3 separate regions of the Homo sapiens genome follow, and regions 1 and 3 are each linked to region 2. The links are contacts of gene promoters, found by promoter capture Hi-C in blood cells and fetal thymus (Javierre and others, 2016). All regions are on one chromosome and are shown on one strand. Each heading gives the region's core, a stretch centred on a gene start or on the middle of the fragment in contact. The rest is flanking DNA. Distances are from core to core; before and after follow the strand shown.

Region 1 (3,696 bases), core at 122-2,621, 260 kb before region 2:
CAGCCTCCTAAGTAGCTGGGACTACATGTGTGTGCTACCATGCCCTGCTAATATTTGTATTTTTAGTAGAGATGTGGTTTCACCGTGTTGGGCAGGCTGGTCTCAAACACCTGACCTCGTGATTTGCCTGCCTCGGCCTCCCAAAGTGCTGGGATTACAGGCGTGCACCACCATGCCCTGCCCAAAATAACTCATTTTCTATAGGGAAACACATAACATTAAATAATAATATCCATACTTTTATGTTAGAAAAATAAGAGAAAATTATTAAGTTAAAGAAAAGCCAATATTTTATATGTACTTGCAAAATAAAGAAGAATTTATCAGTTGCAGCTGATAAACAGATAAACAAATCATGACTAGGATCATAGTCAGACTATTCTGTGGAGTGTGGGACAATGTGGCCATGACAAAGTCTTTCTGGCGGCAAGTGCTTTGAATAAAATCTTAACCACCAAAATAATTATTACCTAATTCAGGAAGTTCATAGAGGAAGCTATCTAACAGTGTTCAAATATGTTTTGGCTCTTGTCAAATTTTGAGTAGTTGAATAGGTCAACATGCTTGTGGCTCATTTATGGCATGCCAGTTAGAAAGCTCAGTCCTAACTAATAGAAATAGGGTTTCCAAGACAAAATATGTTATGTGGTCAAATAATTTTGGAGAATTCCATGCTAAAGTTAAAATGCACATTGCATGCTGCAGGAATTCTCAGAACCCTTAAGATGCCAGTGCCCGCTGTGATTTTTTTTTTTTTTTTTTTTTGGCCTTCAAATGGAAGTGGGCAAGGCACAGAAACATGTAGTTTCACGTAAACACAAATGCACAAAAAACATATAAAAATACTCAACCTCACTCATAACTCATATTCACAATAAAACAAGATAGGCCGGGTGTGGTGGCTTATGCCTGTAATCCCAGCACTTTGGGAGGCCGAGGCGGGTGGTGACACCTGAGGTCAGGAGTTTGAGACCAGCCTGACCAACATGGTGAAACCCCGTCTCTACTGAAAATACAACAATTAGCCGGGCGTGGTGGCGCGCGCCTGTAATCCCAGCTATTTGAGAGGCTGAGGCAGGAGAATGGCTTGAACCCGGGAGGCGGAGGTTGCAGTGAGCCGAGATCGCGCCATTGCACTCCAGCCGGGGCAACAGAGTGAGACGCCGTCTCAAAACAACAAAAACCGAAAGAAAACAAGATAGGATTTGTCACGTGGAAGATTGGCAAACTGGAAAAAGCTTTATAACGTCCAGCGCATTTGAGTGGGAACAAGTGCTCTCACAGAATGTAGGAGGCTGTGTAGATCTATAACTCTTTGGAGGAAGTATTGGTTAGGGATGATGCCCACTGGCATGTAACAGAAAGCCAGACTTCATCGAATAGGGATTTGTTAACTTTCAAAAAAAGATATTAAGTCTAGAGACAGGCGTCCCAGGCTAGTGCAGCCTCTCTGCAACATCACCAGGGTCTCAGGCCCCTCCACCATGCTTAGTACAAAGCTTTTACTCTCACATTTGCCTCACTGTGACCTCATGGTTACAAGATGACTGCTTTACCCCCAGCCTCGGGTTCACATTCCAGGCAAAAAGAAGGGAGTGGCAAGGAAGAAAATGTGGTGCCTCTATCAGGAAATGAATGCTTTCTTAGGTGCCTCCAGCTGACTTTTATCGACATTTGAGTATGTGGAACTGGCCGCCCCTAGATGCAAGGAGAGCTGTGGATTTTTTAGCTCAGCACATTGCCTATTTGAGTGAAATCAGATATTGATTTACCTGATCTGGCCTCAGCTGACTATCTCTTCTCTTACGATTCTACTCTGACTTCTGTTCTTCTACCTCACTGACTTTCACAGGTACTGTTAGCATTTTACCCAGATCCTTTTAAGATCCCCTTTTCCTTCATGTTGTGTGTGCCCCCAACTTTGCTAAGCTTTTTCTCTTAACATTTAGTACTTAGTACCCAACACCTAGTACCTAGTACCTATGGCTCTTTGGATAGGGCGCTACTGGAGCCCACTTTGCCCAGAGGAAGTGCCTGAGAATTTACTTGAAAAAGCTCCCTGGGATGACCCTAGCCAGATGTTAATGGGAGGAGAGTTTGAAAGTCTCAGCAACCTTGCCTTAGGTTGGAACAAACACTGAGGTGTAACTTATATGCCAGAGCTCCCCTTCCTACCCGACTCTACCTTACCCCACCCCGCCCCACCCCCGTGGGATCAGGGTGAGACTACCTTCCTCCGGATTTCGCATGAAATCACACGCTTGCTTGGCTTCCTCCTCTTCCCTGCCCTGCTTCCCCTACACCCTTGCTGGTTATTCCCCACCCTACCCCTAAGGGAGCACTAATCAATCACTTATACAGGAATCCTCTCAGAGTCTGCTTCCAGATCGCCTGACCTAAAACACCAGCCAACTTGCAGTTTCTAGAGCATGCTAAGCACGTTCCTATCACAGGGACTTTGCACGCTGCAGGAATACCTCCCCCCAGACACATGCACGGTTCACATCTGCACTTTGTTTGTGTCTTTGCTCAAATGCCACCTTATCAGTGAGTATTTTCTTTTTTCCTTTTTTTTTTTAGACGAGTCTCGATTTGTCGCCCAGGCTAGATTGCAGTGACCCTATCTTGGTTCACTGCAACCTCCACCTCCGGGATTCATGTGATTCTCCTGCCTCAGCCTCCTGAGTAGCTGGGATTACAGGTGTGTGCCACCATGCCCAGCTTATTTGTGTATTTTTAGTAGAGAAAGGGTTTCACCATGTTGCCCAGGCTGGTCTCGAACTCTTGACCTCATGATCCACCCGCGTCGGCCTCCCAGAGTGCTGGGATAACAGGTGTGAGCCACTGCGCCCGGCCATCAGTGAGTATTTTCTTAACCACACTGCCTGAAATAGAACCACTCCATCAACTTCTATCCTTTACCCTGCTTAATTTCTCTATGCAATTTAGCACAGCTTGGCTTAACAGTATTTAATACACAGTATTTTGTTTATTGTCATTCTCTCCTACCATAATATAAGCTCAGAGGCCAGGAACTTCGTCTTGTTTTATTCTCCTCTGTATCCCCTGCACTGGAATTGATTAATGCCTGCCAGAAGAAAGGCCTTGTCCGGGTGTGGTGGCTCATGCGTATAATCCCAGCACTTTGGGAGGCCGAGGTAGACGGATCACCTGAGGTCAGGAGTTCGAGACCAGCCTGACCAACATAGAGAAACCCCGTCTCTATTAAAAATACAAAATTAGCCAGGCATGGTGGCACATGCCTGTAATCCCAGCTACTCGGGAGGCTGAGGCAGGAGAATCGCTTGAACCCTGGAGGCAGAGGTTGCAGTGAGCTGAGATCATGCAATTGCACTCCAGCCTGGGCTTGAAACTCCATCAAAAAAAAAAAAAAAAAGAAGAGGCTGGGCGCGGTGGCTCACGCCTGTAATCCCAGCACTTTGGGAGGCCGAGGCAGGTGGATCACGAGGTCAGGAGATCGAGACCATCCTGGCTAACACGGTGAAACCCCGTCTCTACTAAAAATACAAAAAAAAAAAAAAAATTAGCCGGGCGTGGTGGTGGGTGCCTGTAGTCCCAGCTGCTGGGGAGGCTGAGGCAGGAGAATGGCATGAACCCAGGAGGCGGAGCTTGCAGTGAGCCGAGATAGCGCCATTGCACTCCAGCCTGGGCGACAGAGCGAGACTCCGTCTCAAA
Region 2 (3,985 bases), core at 412-2,911:
TGGCCCTCACACACTGGGACGAGCAAATGTAAAGCAATACAAGTAACTACGATTCAGATTCAGTGGAAAAGAACATATTCCCAACAAGTTGACTGGAACGACTCTGGATTGGAATAAAAACTTTTTGAATATGAACCAGAAAGTGTTGACAAGTCCTGTTCCTTAAGAAGCTATGCATGGGCTTTTTTTTGGTTTGGAGCTGCTTATTTGAAAAAACAAACAAAAAATTCAAAGTACACATGGGAATGGGTATACTTTTTAGGCACATATACAAGGAAATAAACCAAGACCGAAAATTTCTGGCTAGCTCCCTTTCCCTTAAAGGGGAACCTAACAATATTTACTCAACAAATAACTACCAACTACCTAATATTTGCTAATGTGGCTTTGGAAACTCAGCCATGACCTGTATCCTTCCTAGAGCAGCAAATTTCATATACAACATCTCAAAACTACTTGTATGGTCCTGAGACTCAATAATGTATAACTGTTCTATTAATACACTTCCCAAGTCCGAAAATGTCCCCTAAAATGCTTCCTATATCAGATTTTGTCACTTTAAATCTGATACTACTTAATGCTGTGCTTCCTAGGCTCGGACAGAGCACACTTCTCAATAGCATTCCTCTCTCGGTTTACTTGCTCCTCACATCACATCCCAGGTCCGTTGACTCTGGACTCCAGGGCTCCACCAAAACCTCAGTGTTTGAATGCTTGCACTCTCCAGCAAAATCCCTGATCCGATTCTACCGTTCAGCTATGCCCCTAGCCCTGATGCCTTTCTTCCTACACCATACACTCACACCGTGGACTTCAGGGCCACTTCCAAACTGGGTCACATTAGCAACCCTGGATCTCGAAGACTCTCAGCCTGTCACTTGGGTTTCGGTGTTTCCAAGCCTGGAACCCTGAGGGCCTGCACACCCCAATCTTGGGCCATGCATGTACCAGGAAAAGCACCTCTGAAAGTGAGTGTCCCCCATTCCCAGGCCATGGCCTAAGCTACCCCCAAAGTACCTGCCAGGCCATCACCCTCTCTTCCCCCTTAAAGCCTCTAGGCTCGCCCTCTCGCCGCAACCCCACGCCTGCGCCGCAGGGGGTCATTGCCCCAGCCGCCCTAGCCCAAGACGCGCGCATCCCCGCAGCCTCAGATTCCTTCATCACCCCCTAGACCGGAGCTGGCGCGTCCAATAAGGTGCCAGGTCCGCGGCCTCCCCGCCACCGACCAATCACGAGCGAGCCCCCCCGCCGTCGCCTTCCGCCAATGGGAGAAAGCCCGCGGGCCGGGCCGACGAGGCACACGGACCCCACGAGCGCGGCGGCGGCGACAGCAGCGGGCCAGGCAAGAGCACAACATGGCGGCGGGCAGGACGGACCGAGCTACAGCAGCGGCCGCGCGAGGAAGTGAGGTCTCTGGCGAAGGCGGGAAGCGCTGCCCCTCCCCCCGCCGCCGCTTCCCTATCACCCTCGCACAGAAACTCCCGCACACTCACACACCTCTGCTCAGGAGTCCAGGAAGAGCAGGAGCCGCCCCCGCGCTCCTACGGAGTCGGGCAATGCAGAGGCCCAGGCGCGGCGGAGGGGAGGGGGAAGTGTGCGTCACGGAGAACGGAGCGCGCGCGAAGCGGGGGCACAAGCAAGATGGCGGCCACGCCGTTTGCACCGTTTCCCCTTTTCCCTTCCCCCTCCCTTGGCGCCTGGACTCCCAGTATCGTGCGGTGCGCAGAAGCTGTGCTCCTTGAGGTCTCGCGAGAATTGGGAAGGGGCGACGACAGAGGGAGGCGGAATGAGATCTGAGAGTTTTAACCCCGCCCCCTTTCGGGAGCTCGAGATCTGAGTTTTGACCCCGCCCCCTTTCGGGGGATCCGGAGGCGCTGCCCAGTGACCTCCACCACCCTGCCTATCCTTGTGGATCTCCTTGGTGCGAGCTTGAATTTTAGGAAATAAGTAGGTGTGTGCGCGTGCCCTTGAGTTTTAGGAACTAAGTAGGGGCGTGTGTGTGTATTTGTGTTTTTAATTTGGGGAGAAAGAACTGGGGGATGAAGGTCGACATGGCGTTCCAGATTAAGCATGCCGTTCAAGTAGACAGCTACTGGCACCTTAAATTCATAAAAGAGCATTTAGCACCAAACTGTAAAGTGATGTCCTCTAGAATAAAGAACAGTACTTACCAAGAATAGTTAGCTTGTAACCTTACGTCGACATAGTTGTTCTTATTTGAATGCAGATTTTAAAGTTTTATCACGCAGTTGGAAACCACAGCTACTATGAGCATGGATTTTTTCATACTTATCTCTTTCATTTCCGTGACCACTTGGTCCAAAGGCATCAGGATTGTATCCATTTTACAAATGATAAAACTGAAGCTCAAAAAGGTTAAGTAACTTGATCTAAGTCCCCACAGCTAGTAAGTGTCAAAACCCCATCCGAATAACTTCAAAACCTGTAGGTATAGTCATCAAATGTGTCTTGAATGGAATTACCTACAGTGAGAGTTAGTGCATTAGGTAACAAGCGCAGAGAGGAATGACTGCCTCTGCTGATGGTAACCTTGAATTTTACAAATGACACTGGAGCCTTTCTGAGACTAGTGTTGCATGGGTCCTCAATAAAATCACACTGTTGTTACTCACTTCCTTTGGGTTTATAACCCTGGTGATAAAGTAATTGAGAATAGTGGAGTAAACCCTCGACTTGAATTCAGGAAAATTGTTTTCAAATCCAGTTTCAATAAATCTCACATCAGGCACTCTATTTGATGAATGAATGAACAAAACCTAACTATAAGACACTTGACTTCAGGGAGTCTCAATTCCTTCATCTGTAAAAAGATCTAATTCCTAACTTTTGGTAATGTTGGGGAGAGTGAATGAAATAATGTGAGAGTGCTTCGTAAATTGCAAAAGTGTTATAAAGAAGTTACTGGTAAGAGCTACGAGTGTCTCGCTGCACTCTAGCATGGGCGACAGTGCGAGGCCCTGTCTCAGAAAAAAAAAAAGTTACTTATAATGACATTTTCAGACATGAGAAATGGCATAAAATTAAAAACAGATTCAAGAGAATAGTATGTTGAGATTGTAGAGACAGATGTAGCTAATGGAAAAAAGCTAAATAAGTCTCTCTACAGATGTTTATTGAGTACTTATTGCATATACTATGCTTGCCAAAAAATGTAAAAGTGTACATTTAGTTACAATGAAGCAGCACAAGTTATTATTAGTGATTATTGTTATAATTAAGTATTGATCACACTTAGGGGCTGCAGTCTATTTCCTTCCAAGAGCCTGGAAGTTGGGTTGCCCTCAGAAATAAATAAAAATCTACATAGAGGAAATTAGCTAAGAGTGATATTAAGTATATTTAACAACAAGTAGTGCTCAAGCATAGATGAAGCAGAATTAGAAATGCAGCTAGGATCCTGGAGGTATACGTCTGTGCTAGGTGTTAACCCTTCAGTTGCTGGTTTGTGAATAGGAGGTCCCAAGGGATCCCAGGGGAAGGGAGTGGTCAGGAGGTTTGGGACAGCAGCTATTTACCAGGTAGTACTAGAGTATTTCAGTATTTTAATAGTCAATGTTATAACTGATAACAGTCAATTGATACATATAAGCCTAATATTAGTCCTTGCTATAGTCTTTATTATCAATAGCCTCCGCCCTTCCCTTTCTAAAGCCGTTGCTATCTGGCCTGTCCCTAGGAGATTAGGGTGAAAGACTTCTCACCCTAATGTCGTCAAGCTTGGCCTTGTTTTGACCAATGAAATATGAGTAGAAATGGCATGAACCGGCCGGGCACGGTGGCTCACACCTGTAATCCCAGCACTTTGGGAGGCCGAGGTGGGTGGATGACGAGGTCAGGAGTTCAAGACCAGCCTGGCCAAGATGGTGAAGCCCTGTCTCTACTAAAAATAAAAAAATTAGCCAGGTGTGGTGGCAGGCACCTGCAATCCCAGCTACTCGGGAGGCTGAGGCAGGAGAATTGCTTT
Region 3 (3,642 bases), core at 471-2,970, 310 kb before region 2:
CCTCAAGTGATTAACCCAACTCAGCCTCCCAAAGTGCTGGGATTACAGGCCTGAACCACCATGCCCAGCCAAGTTTTTATATTGTCTTAATGTTTCAGACTCTTGTCTCTCTGAGATAAACAAGTACTATTTCTTCTATACTTCTTTCATCTTCAGCAGCTAATACAAAGCCCTACTCAACTGTTTCACTCAATAGCTCAGTCAGAAATGAACTGATTTCAACTCAACCTTTCTAACCTTCATTGAACTTACCGTCTAACCAAAGCAAAACCACTAAAGACCAAAAGGCAAAGGACCAAGTTCCTGGTACTATGTGAACGCTGGGCACTGTTCTCCTCCTGGCCTGAACCAGGGTCCAGTCTCAACTGAAGTGTAAGCTCATCACCAAAGCACCTACCCATTTGGGAACCTAAGTGAGAGGCAGAGGTCTGGGGCTGTGAAGGATCCAGGGAGACCAGAAAGCCAGCTCTGGGGTGGCGGGTGATAAGACAGTGCCTCTCAGGACTCAGAAGCCAGCACTCAAGGGCATGCTGTCTACCAAACTAAGCCACACCGCCAGGTCACTGTGAAGCAGCCTCTCAGGGAAAGGGTGAATGAAACCCAGCCCTAAACCATATGCTGGCCACCAGAGTCACTTGTTCTTTATAAAGTCAAACTGCTTTTACATTCCTTCAGGTTACTTTATTTTCCACAGAATTTACAAGGTCTTTCTGAAAATCTAGTATTTGTCGGGTGGGCTACAGAGAATAAATGGGCTGTGGTGGACCATTCCAGGGTGGCCCCAGTGCAGCATGCTCAGTCTTCACACCCATGTGTGTTCTCCTCCCCTGCCGGCTCGGGGCTTGGCCACGTGACTTGTTTTGGCCAACGGGACATCAGCAGGCCTGATAAGTGCCTGCATAACAGGCCTGTCATTTTGGAGTCCAGCTGCCCACCCTGTGTGAGGAAGCTTGGGCTGGATTAATGAATGATGAGCCACTAGGTGGAGACAGCATCTTGACGTCCCGGCTGGGCCGAGCTCACAGCTGAACACAAGGCAGGAGTGTGCCATCTCAGATAGTACACCACGTGCAGCTGAAACCCAGGCACTGAGCCAAACCACAGAATACTGAGATGAGAAGTCACTGCTGTTGGGAGCCACTGAGCTTTAGGGAGGTCTGTCACATAGTAATACACAGCTAGGCGAAGAGCTGATATTATCTGAGCATTTCCCTATTTTCCAGGCACTACTAGAGACTATTTACATACATTATCTCCCTTAATCATGTGAAGTACGTACCTTTATTACTCCCATTTTACAGAAAAAACGGAGGCCCATAAAGGCTAAGTAAATTGCTTAAAATCACCCATAAGCGGTAAGGTTGGAATCTGAGCCCAGTTTCAATAGCTCCAGAGCCCAGGTTCTCATAATAACTGCCCAAGCCTCACTTAGGACAAGGACTTCACACCAGGCACCAGCTTCAGGATGGTGGCCACGGTGATCAAAGTGACAGAATCTCAAGAACAGGAACACAGAGGCAGAAGGCAAAGGAGGGAGTCTGGCTGTGCTCCCTCCTTCCTGCATGGAGGAGCCGTGCTGTTCCTCAAGAGGCAAGGCAGCTCCCTTACGGCACACCATGAGGTGCTAGGAACCCAGGCCTGCCCTTCTCCAAAGCTCCTGATCACCCAGGCGGCAACAGGCCTCATATCCTCCAGAAATACACAAGCGGGAATTGAATGAGTGTCTTAATGCACGCTTACCTTGCCATCCCAGCACGTTTCTTGAGAATTCAACCACTGCCAACTGCATCCCTAAGCACACGCCTTCCAGTCGGGGGGAAAAAACAAACAAAACTCCATTGAAAAGGCAGCTCCTACTTTTCCCAGCAGCCTCTGCAATGGCCTTTGTGTCCTTTATTTGGAGAATTATAATTGCAAACTCATAACTTCCTGCTATGAACAAGTACTCTCTGCTGTTACACTTTACTTGTATTAGATTTCAAAAACTGCATGTAAAGTAGATGAAAATTCTAGATTTGCAAAGTTATCCGATTTTAGAAGTAAGTGATATTCTATTCAGTACTTTTTTCCCCCCAGACAGGGTCTTGCTGTTGCCCACTCTGGAGTGCAGTGGAGAGATCTTGGCTCACTACAGCCTCAAATTTCTGGGATCCAGCAACCCTCCTGCCTCAGCCTCCACAAGTGTTGGGTTTACAGGTGTGAACCACCGTGCCTAGCCTCAGTACTTTAAAATTCAAGTTTTCTTACCCTCTCTCATTAAGTTTTTATTTATAATTGTTCAAGTTGAAAATTACTAAAATGTACAGCACCAGGAGGCATGCAAAATCATTTTGTCCAATTACAGTCAGCTGTTGTGCCAAGTGAGCAGATATAAAACTCAACCTCACGTGTGCTACAAACAGCTGGGTTCATTAAATGGACAGGAATTCACAATTCATTCTCTCAAAATTCCACGACATCTACATGTAGCTCATAAGCATAAATAAGCTTTCCAAGACTGAATTTGTCTCTAAAGAGAAAACATGAAGGCTTCTACTTGAGCTCCTATCCACAAAGACAGCATGTTTCAGTAATCCCCCCACTTTGTTCATAGGCTCCCACGTGGCACCGTTCCCCACTCTTTCCTACTCTTAAGTGAAGACTGCACTGCAGAGCTCCTTACCCAAAAAAGGCTTTTTCTGATTCCGAGCCCAGGCAATTGCTTGGATTTTTCCTTCTGTTCCTCGAACACCAAATCCTCCTGGAACCAGCACTCCACTGCACAAAAGAACAAACCACAAAGGCAATTCCCCTTTTCTACCAGTCCAACTTGCAATAATCGCCTAACGGGCCATTACCAAGACACTGAAGCCATGAATTAACCCCATACATTGTGCTACTGTGACAATGAATTGTATGTAAACACTATCAACTTAGAAACTGCATATGAAACTATGGACTTTTCTTAGTAACTTAAGAACATGCTTATTGCAAGTGAAAAAGATAGTATACATAATTGTAATACTGCCACTGCACTATCTTTGGTACTGAGTTGTTCACAATTTTTTTTTCTTGAGACAGGGTCTCACACTGTTACCCAGGCTGGAGTGCAGTGGTGTGATCACAGCTCACTGCAGCCTTGATCTCCCAAGGAGCTGGGACCACACCCAGCTGGTTTTGTTGTTTTTGTTGTAGAAACAGGGTCTCCCTATGTTGCCTGGGCTGGTCTTGAACTCTTGGGCTCAAGCAATCCTCCCACCTCAGCCTCTCAAAGTTTTAGGATTACAGGCATGAGCCACTGTGCCCAGCCCAAAATTTTAAATACATATATTAATATTAACAATTTATCTTACCTCTTGGCTTAAAATGCTCCCCTAAGGGGGCCTTTCTTCATCAGCTCTGTGTGCCGTACTGACCAAGACACTCAGAAGAAGGTGTACACCTCCGTAATATTCAACTGTTCTAGTGAACCAGAAATTCTTGCTAATGTTTTACTATTATAAATAACAGCTGCCAAAACAACTGATGAGACTCTACTGATGGGTACTCATCAAATGTTCTGGATGAAAAATCCTTAAATGAGCCTCATCAATAGATGCATATGGCAAACAATATCAAAATCAGAGCAGCTTTTCAGATCCAATGATATTGACAAGCTGCATT

Evidence for each region. Contacts are between HindIII fragments. The CHiCAGO score rates a contact against its expected background, and 5 or more counts as called.
Region 1: a contact is called between a fragment that was not itself captured here and the fragment with the promoter of NFYC in region 2, in 1 of 17 cell types (endothelial precursors). The highest score is 5.3, in endothelial precursors.
Region 3: a fragment that was not itself captured here is called in contact with the fragment with the promoter of NFYC in region 2 in 1 of 17 cell types (erythroblasts); the score reaches 5.1 in erythroblasts.

The regions. Positions count from the first base shown.
Region 1 is chr1:40,953,396-40,957,091 of GRCh38, reverse strand. No RefSeq gene overlaps it. Among named protein-coding and RNA genes, the nearest start is that of CTPS1, 24 kb to the left of the region's middle. The HindIII fragment of the contact is 261 bases long and covers 1,241-1,501 here.
Region 2 is chr1:40,689,380-40,693,364 of GRCh38, reverse strand. NFYC (nuclear transcription factor Y subunit gamma) reads right to left here and starts at 1,661. Exons shown (of 10, transcript NM_014223.5): 1 at 1,498-1,661. It overlaps NFYC-AS1 (NFYC antisense RNA 1), which reads left to right and starts at 1,104. Exons shown (of 1, transcript NR_024567.1): 1 at 1,104-3,985. It also overlaps a transcript of RIMS3 not described here. RefSeq lists enhancers at 674-723, 744-913 and a silencer at 1,154-1,253. The HindIII fragment of the contact is 4,450 bases long and covers 1-3,739 here.
Region 3 is chr1:41,001,275-41,004,916 of GRCh38, reverse strand. CTPS1 (CTP synthase 1) reads right to left here. Exons shown (of 19, transcript NM_001905.4): 11 at 2,663-2,757; 12 at 1,741-1,803. Among named protein-coding and RNA genes, the nearest start is that of SLFNL1-AS1, 11 kb to the left of the region's middle. RefSeq lists an enhancer at 777-926. The HindIII fragment of the contact is 1,538 bases long and covers 952-2,489 here.